3 separate regions of the Homo sapiens genome follow, and regions 2 and 3 are each linked to region 1. Evidence: promoter capture Hi-C in 16 types of primary human blood cells and fetal thymus (Javierre and others, 2016). All regions are on one chromosome and are shown on one strand. Each heading gives the region's core, a stretch centred on a gene start or on the middle of the fragment in contact. The rest is flanking DNA. Distances are from core to core; before and after follow the strand shown.

What was found. Contacts are between HindIII fragments. The CHiCAGO score rates a contact against its expected background, and 5 or more counts as called.
Region 2: a contact is called between the fragment with the promoter of TOR1AIP1 here and the fragment with the promoter of SMG7-AS1 in region 1, in 4 of 17 cell types (activated CD4 T cells, non-activated CD4 T cells, total CD8 T cells and 1 more). The highest score is 8.7, in activated CD4 T cells.
Region 3: a contact is called between the fragment with the promoter of CEP350 here and the fragment with the promoter of SMG7-AS1 in region 1, in 5 of 17 cell types (non-activated CD4 T cells, total CD4 T cells, naive CD8 T cells and 2 more). The highest score is 10.1, in non-activated CD4 T cells.

Annotation. Positions count from the first base shown.
Region 1 is chr1:183,470,129-183,473,518 of GRCh38, reverse strand. It overlaps SMG7-AS1 (SMG7 antisense RNA 1), which reads left to right and starts at 1,537. Exons shown (of 5, transcript NR_040063.1): 1 at 1,537-2,799; 2 at 2,979-3,054. SMG7 (SMG7 nonsense mediated mRNA decay factor) reads right to left here and starts at 1,020. Exons shown (of 23, transcript NM_001375584.1): 1 at 870-1,020. The coding sequence starts at 898. RefSeq lists silencers at 1,033-1,182, 3,155-3,344 and an enhancer at 1,338-1,969. The HindIII fragment of the contact is 8,906 bases long and covers 1-3,390 here.
Region 2 is chr1:179,880,666-179,884,055 of GRCh38, reverse strand. It overlaps TOR1AIP1 (torsin 1A interacting protein 1), which reads right to left and starts at 1,771. Exons shown (of 10, transcript NM_015602.4): 1 at 1,079-1,771. The coding sequence starts at 1,553. It overlaps LOC139427322, which reads right to left and starts at 1,740. Exons shown (of 1, transcript NM_001436163.1): 1 at 1,663-1,740. The coding sequence starts at 1,740. The coding sequence ends at 1,663. RefSeq lists enhancers at 805-904, 1,208-1,502, 1,065-1,824, 1,329-1,866, 1,845-1,954 and 1 more. The HindIII fragment of the contact is 5,266 bases long and covers 1-2,684 here.
Region 3 is chr1:179,953,125-179,956,514 of GRCh38, reverse strand. CEP350 (centrosomal protein 350) reads right to left here and starts at 1,705. Exons shown (of 38, transcript NM_014810.5): 1 at 1,373-1,705. RefSeq lists a silencer at 1,271-1,720 and an enhancer at 1,508-2,009. The HindIII fragment of the contact is 10,111 bases long and covers 1-3,327 here.

The DNA of each region.
Region 1 (3,390 bases), core at 288-2,787:
TCGCCATCAGGTACTAAGTTCAACCTATCTACATCTTCATCCTGAAATGTGCATCAATCGCCGCGCCCCCCACCCCAGACACACATCTCGCACACACACACACTATTCCCATGTGTCACTCTACCTCTGACATACAAGTTCCTTACACCACTCTTAATGAATACACACGACTCTCAGAATGGTATCTTCCGACTACACTGATTCTAACCCAGTTTCTTCTGAAAAACCCAACCTTGTCCACAGTGCCTCCCTCTTTCCTCACTTCCCCATCTATTCCCCTTCACGCCTCCCCACACCGCCAACTAACTACAGATGACATTATTCCTCAATACTCCCAACCCGAGAATGAAGAACAAGCTCCAGTTTCCTGCGGTCTCCCTCTCCCCCTGTCTGCCCTCCGCGGTTCCCCCGCCCCAACACCCCAGGTGTGCAGACTTCCTCCCCGTCCTCTACTCATGCATCGCTCCAACCAATCCCACGCCACACCACGAGTCCCCTGCCACGGGGATCAGACTCCTCCACACCCACCTCCACTCGGGGTCGCCGCCGCCTCCCCGGACGTTTCTCTCCACCCCTCGCTAGCAAACCCGAGACCAAGGGCGCGCGCGCACATTCTCACGCTTCCCCAACCTCCCTCCTCGCACCGGGACGAGCCGGCTTCGCCAGAGCTCAGCCCGGGCGGTAGGGGCTAGGCACCCATACCCGTTCCGCCCCCTCCCGCAGATCCCCTTGCAGTCTCCGCCGACCTGCCCGGCGAGGAGAGGACGCAGCAACTCCCCCGCCACCCCGGACTTACCTCGGTGTCTGTTGCTCCATGCCCCAACCTGCGGCCCGCTCCCCCTACGTACCAGCCCGGCCTCGGCACTCACCGGAGGTACTGCGCGCTCTGCAGGCTCATCCTCCGCCGCCGCCGCCGCGTCTTCCCGCGAAGCCTCCGTGGGTCTCTCAGGCTCCTCGGAGCGGCCCCGCGGCACCGCGGGTGCTGGCGGCCGCCGCCATCTTCCTCTCCTCCGGCTCCTCCTCGCTCGGCAGGGGGGTGGGGGTGAATGAGGCGAGGGGGAGGGAGTGGGGAAAGCTGCTCTCGCTGCTGCTCTGGCCCGTGGGGCGCAGGGACACTCCGACCCGGGGGGGAGGGGGAGGGAGGAGGGGCGGGGGAAAGAGGAGAAGCAGAGGAAGTCGGCGACCGGGCGAGGGAGGGGGTCCCTCTCGCGAGATTTCAGCAGCGCCTGTCCCTCAGTGATTTCCGCCTCTCTGTAGCGCTCCCTTTTGGGATCAACGAGCTGTGTGGCGCCTGTGCGGCTTCTGAGAGACCGGCTGGTGGCGCTTGGCGGCTTCCTGCCAATCCACCCTTCTCCTCCCGCGCAAGGGGGCAATCCCAATCCCACCACCGGGAACACCCAGGCCAAAAGAACGGGAGTTACACTCAAAGTCTTCCCCCTTCTTATCACTCCTGCCGATTTCCCTCTTCCTTTTTGCACGCCTCCACTCTTCCCCACCGGAAACGCCGCCCCTTCCTCCTACAGTTCCTCCCAGCAGTCCCTCAACGCCTGTCTTCCCTCGCGCGTAGAGAGTGACTCGAAGGACCCCCTCTCCTCTTCGCTGCAGCCCCTCCCCATGCACGCTGGGAGACTCTTGGAGGGGATAAGGTGGGGCCCGGAGAGGAAGAGAAGACAATCGGATTGGATAGGCAGCTGCCATGGCAACTGGAGGCTGTGGTTATATTGTCATAGTAACCGATGTGTGCGGACAGGGTCACCCTCCCCTTGGCCAATGGATTCCCAGGAAACCACCCAGGGTTCCCCGTTGGCTTCCCTTCCATCTAAAGGCCTCCCCCAAGTTAGGAATCGATATAGTTCTCCCCGGTGGTGAAGTCCACTTCCTCCTCCCTTCCCACTTCCCACAGCAACTGGGGGGACACCCCGAGGCATTCACCATGGGCTTTTCCACCCGCCTGCGAGCGGGAACCACCTCCGTAGTTTCCTCTCAGAGCCGGGCGTGGAGAGGGCTGGGCCTGCGAAGAGGATGCATGGCCTGGAGGCTGGCGGGCGGCGGGCTGGAGTCGGGAGGGCGAGGCGACAGCGCCAAGCGGCGAGGAAGGGCAAGGGGTTTCCCCACAACTGCCTTGGGCTCTGGGAGGCGGGATCCCGCCTGGACGGGGTCCCTGAGGGAGGAGAGCGGCACACGACAGCCGCGATGCCTTCCCTGCCGACGGGGATAGCCGACTTCTGGCGAGTCGACCCCTCCCCCAAATCCACCCCACCCGCGTACTCCCTCCTGACCTAGCTGTCGCGAGCCTGCCGCGAGGAGGCCAGGGTGAGGGTGGGAACACATCCTAGAAGGCTAACACGTGGTTTTCTATCATTTAAGCCGGGGACAAGCCGGAAGGCTGACTAGCGCCATCACTCTGATAGGCACCCCGCAGTGGGGATCCTGCTTGATTATTAAAGGCAGACCTCCAAGTTCCTCCCTGCTCTGCAACCTTTCTCTTCTCACGGGTCTGCAGTGTTTTAAAAGTCGTCATTCTGTGTCGTTGAGTTAGAGAGGAAAACATCGGATAAAAGAGGATCAAGAAGAACGAACCCTAGATACATCTGTCTGGTGAAAGGAGTCTAGGAAAAGAAGTTTCATTCTTAGAACAAATCTTTTTGGATATTTATTATGTGTGTTTTGTGTCAGGTTTCGGGCCAAAAAGCTGAAATAAAGAACGAAGTCAATAATAATATGAAGTGTATGAGAAATAGCTGGAAAATTCATCATCCATGACTTGAAGAAATTGACGTTTTACAAGTTATATTTTCGGTTCGTATTGTGGAGTCACTTAAGGAGCTATCCCAAAGTACTTTAGGATATGTAACTATATAAAACCTTCCAAGAATGCAGCCCTCATAGGATAGTTAAAATAAGGATTTTAATGGGCTATTTTGATTTGGTTTGGTCTGGTTTGGCTACCTGATTCCTGCTGTCTTTTTCTACGCCAGGTGAAGAGGCACTTTCAAGATCCTTCTCTGAGACCTGCACCAATAAGACTATACCAATGTTCAGTTGAAACATCAGGTATAAGTTTAGCGGAAACGAAAGTACAACCTGCTTTGAAATAAATTCCAAGGACAGATTGTCATTAACGAAATAGAAAGTGGACTATGCCCCTCATGCTGCCAGCGCCTGGTATGGTGCGGCGTGACACGCAGCGCTTGCGGCAGTACAATGCCCCCAATCACCCGCCCCGCCCCGACGCGCCGCCCACTCACGGCAAAGAGAGCCACCTAGTGAGGGATTATTCTCATTTCCGCGGTGGGGTTCTGCTTTTCTTTCTACCATGAGCGCCCAAGGATAGACACTCCTACTACCTATTACCTCAAATAGCCTACATTTCTTTCCGAAAATTTATTG
Region 2 (3,390 bases), core at 522-3,021, 3.6 Mb after region 1:
AAATCAAGTCTTCAAATCTGTCAGTACCTTCACGAGTCAGCAGGTAAACTTGCAGCCTATCACCGTGCTCTAAGCTGAAAACCCACTCCTCCGCCTATCAATAGTCTACCACAAACTATGTCATCCCATTGTGACTCAGGTCCGCTGATTTTTACCTCACAGGTGCCTTACATGGGATTAACATGAAACTTCATCTGTGACTCAGTGTTAGGTCCTAAAATGGGGGGGGCAGGGTGGGAGAGGATAGATTAAGGAAACTGATTCACCTATGACTTACCTAACACTATACACTCACTTTGTCAGCATCCCTTTTGTCCATTTAGACGAAAACTCTAATTAATAGTCTTGTTTTTCAGGTTACTTTGTCAGTCTGATTTGCCAGACTACTTGAGGTTACAGTGACGGCCACCAAAGTGGCAGATTTTTGGCAGGGACCACCACACTGGAGAAACAGCAATCAGCTCAAGTTATCAAACACTGGGGAACATCAGTTCAGGAAAAATGAGTTACCCCATTTCGGTGAAAGTATTGGGTGAGGTCTCAAATCAATTCACTAAACTCAGCAATCCCTCGAAATGCCCACTCACAAAATTTCTCCTTCCTCTCTGCCCACCTGGGTGAGGAGGGAAAAAGACTGAAAGGTTAGATCCTCAGCTGGGGACTCTGGCCCGCGAGCGTTAAAGAAGGAAATGGAAGTGGTTTCTGTAGAAACATCCGCAGGGTAGAGGGAACCGAAATGAAACCGACCCTGCAGTAATTCGCTGTCCCCTCGTGAAGGCCTGCAGAAAAAGGCAGCTCTGACTCCCCTAAATTGATGCCCGATGTTGGGCAGAGCGCCCCAGCCCTGCCCGGGTCGCTCCACACGACCATCTTTCCACTCCTCCGGTCGGCGCTTCCTTCCCCGCTGCGGGTCAGGGTGGCCCTTGCACGGCGGCACAAGTCCAGAGGGGGCTGAGGAATACCCTTTAGCCAATCCCAGTACTTAGTACCCAGGCGGGCATGAGCTCCACCGAGGCGCGCGCCCGCCCCCGCGCGTTCCCTGGCTCGCGGCTGGGACTGTTACCTCCGCGGTCCTCACCTTCAGAGGAATGAGAGTCCCGCAGCCCTCTCCTGGTCATAACAGGAGACGGCTGTAGCGGAGGCTGCTCTGAGTGCTGCTGCTGAAGGCGGGTAGTCCTTCGCGTCTTCATTTCCTCGGTTTCCTGGGGTCGCGGCTGCCTCCGCTGCCTAGACCGAAGGTAGTACGCGCTTTCTCTCACTTCCTCTTTCGCAGAATCGGACCGGAACTCTTCTAGCCGGGTTCGTTTTCCCACCGGGGACCTTTCTTTGGCCACCAGGGGCTCGAAGTCGCCGTACACTTCTGGCGGCTCGTCCGAGAACCTCACTTCCCGCCGGCCCTGGCGCGACGGAGGAGTTCTGTACGCAGGCGCATCGCTGCTGCCGCCATTTTGAGGGGCGAGCCGGCCCCTTCCCTCTCGGATGGGGGCCCTGGGGGTGACGTACACACCCCATCCTTCCCGCACCGCCTCTGCCCGCCGCCCGTCGCCCGCCATAGTTGTTGACGTAGCTTTAGTCGATCGCGAAGATGGCTTTATGGACCCTAGGTTCTCCTGCCGGTGGTGGCGATGGCTTCTCGGGGGTGTTGGGCGGTGGCCGCTGTGGTCAGGGAGGCAGTTGCGAGTCGCTGGGGCCGCCGCCTGCGTCGTCGCTGCTGTGTAGCAAACCTGCCTCTGGGCCCATGGTGTGTCTTGAGGGCTGTGAGAGAGGCAGTGCCTGAGCTGGGTCAGCTGCTGTGGATCGCTCCCGCCTCCTGGCTGGAGGCACCAAAGAGGAGGAGAAGGGGGAGGAGGACGTCTCTGCCATCGCCCTTAAGTAAAGGAGGGGTGGGGGCGATAGAAGGATGGCAGGGCAACTTGCCTGTCCTAAGTCTAGCCGCTCGTGGCAAGTGTTGACTGCGTGTAGGAGACTCCCGTCCTATCTCCCAGTACCAAGTCTCGGGGAAAAGGAGTGCGACGAGGGTGGAGAAGACCCAAGTTTCGCTTCTCGGCCCCAGGCTGTTGCGCAGTTTCCCTGGAATCTTTTTGATCGACTGCTACGTTGACCATGTCCTTCCCAGTGTCCTTAGCAGGAGTGATGGCCAGAGAGAGAACTTTTGCACATGCCATGTTTTCGTGGCAAAAATTTTAGTTTCAAGTACCTTATGAGGGCGGTTACCTAGTTTTGAATTTTGTCACTTGTTGAGGGTGTACAAAATCCTATCTAGAGTCATACTCGTTGGATGTATTTTCTTTTCCGAAATGTACCCATAGGACACATAACCTTATTCCTGGTCTTTAATATTTCTCGGTTTTATACCAAGCAGCAGTGTTCGGAAGACCATGTTAGTGCTACATTGTGCACAGTGAGAAATGAACAAGTTTTTTAATTAAAGACAGCACTGTAATTTTAAGTTGTGATCCATTATTTTTACTTTTATTCTGGATGTGACGTGATACTCTACATTTGATTTAGAATGCTTTATGGACTTTATGGAATAAGAAAGCATGGTAAAATCTATTTGTTTCACCTCCTTATACAAATGTTTACAGATGTGGCTAATCTGCAAATACCTAACCAAATTTAGACACATTCAGAGAAGGTCGATTAAGTTCGTGTAAAGTCTGAATAATTATTGAAAGAAAGCTTAAATTGCCTTCAAATATACAACTGCTTGTAGGGCTTTGTATGATTGGAGTGAATAGATTTAAAAAATTGTAATTTGGATACCAGTTACAATGAGCGATTCTGAAAAGTTTGAAGGTGTTTGTTTATTCTTCCAAGTAATCACCTTAAAATGTTTTTGAGCAACTCATTTGTTGCTCAAACTTGGCACAAATTTCAACTACTTAAGTCGTAATGTGTACTATGTTTTTATTTTATTTTTATTTTTATTTTATTTTTTTTGAGACGGAGTCTTGCTCTGTCACCCAGGCTGGAGTCCAGTGGCGCGATCTCGGCTCACTGCAACCTCTGCCTCCCGGATTCACGCCATTCTCCTGCTTCAGCCTCCCCAGCAGCTGGGACTACAGGCGCATGCCGCCACGCCCGGCTAATTTTTTTGTATTTTTAGTAGAGACAGGGTTTCACCGTGTTAGCCAGGATGGTCTCGATCTCCTGACCTCGTGATCCGCCTCTCGGCCTCCCAAAGTGCTGGGATTACAGGCGTGAGCCACCCTGCCCGACTGTGTACTATGTTTTTACTAATATTGTCCATAAATTTGGCCACAGGCAGGAGGAATTACAGTTTTAGAGTGAGATAAGGTTTGGCCTGTTAGGAGCTTAGTTTACTGTAGCTTTATGTACAATATAGCTTTTAAAAACTGCAGTAACAAAAGAGAGACTTCTTTCTTT
Region 3 (3,390 bases), core at 456-2,955, 3.5 Mb after region 1:
AGAAGGTTGGCTGTTTAAGTATTAACGCTCTTACATGACACACACACCAATTTATCTCAGAAAATCAAAGAAATATGTTCACATACGTATGAAATTTTTTACATATACAACTTGCCATCTCTACATACACAAAATTTTGCTACTGAGGATGAAGAGATACAGAGATACACATGTATTTATCCACATATACAATGTATTCTAGCTTGAAGTTTATTTTCAGATTACAGTATCTTAAATTTAATGCACTGACAGTTCAAATGATTCAGATTTATTTCATTACATTAAATAAAATTTGTCAATTTAGCACACCGAAACTAATTATTATACGCCCATGGCTTTGAAGCAACTTCCAGCATGGGTCTAACAATCCCTCAAAGTCACAATTCCATGTCATTAGCAGTGCATTTCCTTGTTTAAAAACAATATATTAAACGAAGAAATTTTCAGAATGGAGGGCAACTTTTAGTATTTTATCATTGTTTCTACAGAACTTTTCAGATTGTTACTAGCTCTGCCAAAGATAGTCTTTCTTTTAAAACTCTTCAAATACAGGGCAGGAGGTATCGTTAACATGGCAACAATAACGACTTCCCCAAATTCAAAACAAGGATCACCATCAAAACAAAACAATCAGGTGGAGTACATGGATATTGATCACTATTTCTGACAACCTGTTTTTTCCCATATGAAGGATTTGCTACTGCATTAAAACATTAAAATCTATGCCTATGTGCAACTTTCTATCTGAATATTTAAAATCCAGGCAAATTCCAATTCATATCTTGTGACATTAGCTAAATATTACTTAGCATGTTGAGCTGCATTTAAAAGGCAGAGGAAAATACTGACAACTTCCAAAACATAAAGCCTTTTAAATCTTTCCCCAAATTATCTGTGAATAAACTACCTTCAGCAGCCGCTAGACTAGAGTAGATCAAAGTTTTCCCTATACTTGAGAATGTGATCCCCACTGAAAAGGAACAGAAACTGATCATCCCTGCCACTGGAGCCAGTCCCCGGAATCTCCCCAAATACGCCTGATCGCCAGATGAAGAAGGGACACTTCTCCGGGCAGCAAAGGCTAGAGGTATCTTACCTCTGCAGGCTAGAGGAGGGGTGGAGGAGGCGGGAGGACACTGGCACGTAAGGAAGGAAATTCCGTCTTCAGCAGGCACTGGTGGGACCCGAAACCTAGGTCCCCGAAAAGCCTCAGAACCCAGGGAGGTTCCCCGAGGGGGACGCCAAGCAGGGCCAAGACTCTCCGCGCCCGGCCCCGCCTCTCTTGCCGCCACCGGGGACCCGGGACCGCGGACAGAGACAGTTGAGGCTGAGCGAGACTCCGCGGTCCCAGCCAGGTCCTACAGGAGCTCACCTGAGAGTGTCGCCTCCGCCCTCGGCTACCACGGTGCATCCCGCGGAGCCTGGCGGAGGGTGCAGTGACGCCGCCCCGACCGGCCCCAGGGCTGCCCGGCCTGGCCTCCCCGCTCCGGGGACGCACCGGGTGCCCTCCTCGCACCGGCTCCGGGGATCCGCCGGTCCGCTGGGAAGGAAGACAAGGCGGAAAGGCTGCCTCCCCTCCCTCAGGGCAAGCCACCCCCCGAGCTGCGGCTCCCTGCAGTTCTCTCTGGCGCAGGTCTGGCCCCGCTCCCCGGCCCGGGAGTCACTTCGTCAGGGGCGGCCCAGTCGCCATTACAGCCCAACAACTGACACGGAGGAGGAGCGGCGCCAGCGGCAGCGGCTGTGGCGGCGGCGCGAGGCAGGGCGGGAGCAGTCGGGCCCAGGCAAACCTCGCGAGAACTGTCCCGAGACAGTGCCACAGGCATGCCAACCTTCGGTTAGGGCCATGTTGAGTGTGGCCGAAAGGTGGGAGCGAAATAAAACAAGGAGCAGAACCGCGAAGAAGCCATGTTTGGTGCGTCGAAGTTTAAACTCGTAGGACTTGGGAGGAGCCAAGGTATATCCGCAGAAGAGACCACCCCTGCCCTTTCGCTTTGACGCTCATTGGGCCTTTTGGCTGCGCATTTCACCCCGGGCTGAGAAAACAAGCTGGGGATTCGACAAGAATGAACTCAAAGTCTGGAAACGGCAGCTTCTGAGAGTTTACAATGTTTCACCAACTGTCGTCCAAATAAGTCGTCACCCCTGTCAGAGTAGTTGCAGCTCTGCCGTTACCCACTGCTGTCACTGTGGCCGTTTTATTCGCGAGGGTTACAGTTCTGTTTAGCATGCATCTAATGACTTAAGACTCCACGCAAGTAAAACGGAGTTTCCTCCCATTAAGTATTGGCTTTGCTTTAACAGTGCTTTGAGAGGCTCTCTGTGGCCAACATATCTTCTCATATCTTTGTCCTCGTTTCCCAATCTCCGCGTGGTGAAATCATCTATCAAGACTTGGCTTAAAGGACCTCTCTTCTGCAAATAATGCCATCTTCCGCTAGGTGCTCACTGCACACAGACTCGCCGCCCACCACTTCTGTCCACCTTCTGAACTCCGATAGTTATTTACCCAGAGACTGTTTCTCATCTTTAAGTGTCGTGAAGACTTTAAGATCTGTTTTATCTCTCTATACCCCAAAATGGCCTAGCACAGTAACTAGGACATTGTAGGTGCTCAATAAATGTTTGTCGAATATCAATGACAGCAGGAGGCAGTAAATGGTCCCTCTTTGTAGGGCCTACAGCTGTGCCTGAGTAGGATGTACAGAAGTCCTGCATACGTGTGAAGTGTCTCCAGGAAGCTGCACTGGAGGGGACAGGAAATGTGGGTAATCGTATGGTGCAAGTGGTAGCAAAAAAGACAACATAAGGAAAATGTTATTTAGGTTTTGCCCAGTCTTGCTGTTTAAAGCCCTGTGTTAGATGCTTTTCATGCGCTATTTTACTGAATGTAAACAACCACCTTATTAAATATACTCACTTTTTTAAAACGAAGAAACACGTACTGGCCGGTCACAGTGGCTCACGCCTGTAATCTCAGCACTTTGCGGGGCCGAGGCGGGTGGATCACGAGGTCAGGAGTACAAGACCAGCCTGGCCAAGATGGTGAAACCCCGTCTCTACTAAAAATACAAAAATTAGCCGGGCGTGGTGGCGGGTGCCTGTAATCCCAGCTACTCGGGAGGCGGAGGCAGGAGTATCGCTTGAACCTGCGAGGCGGAGGTTGCAGTGAGCCGGGATCGCACCACTGCACTCCAGCCTGGGCAACAGAGTGAGACTCCATCTCAAAAAAATAAAAAAAAAGAAAGAAAGAAAGAAAAAGAAACAAGTACTGAAAAAGCTAAGTAATTTGCCCAATTTTATACCATCAATAAAAGGGAGCTGTAAGCTTTGGGATCTGCTTTGCCCCAAAGCCTGTTTATACTTTTTCAGCCCCATGCTATCCCCTTGACA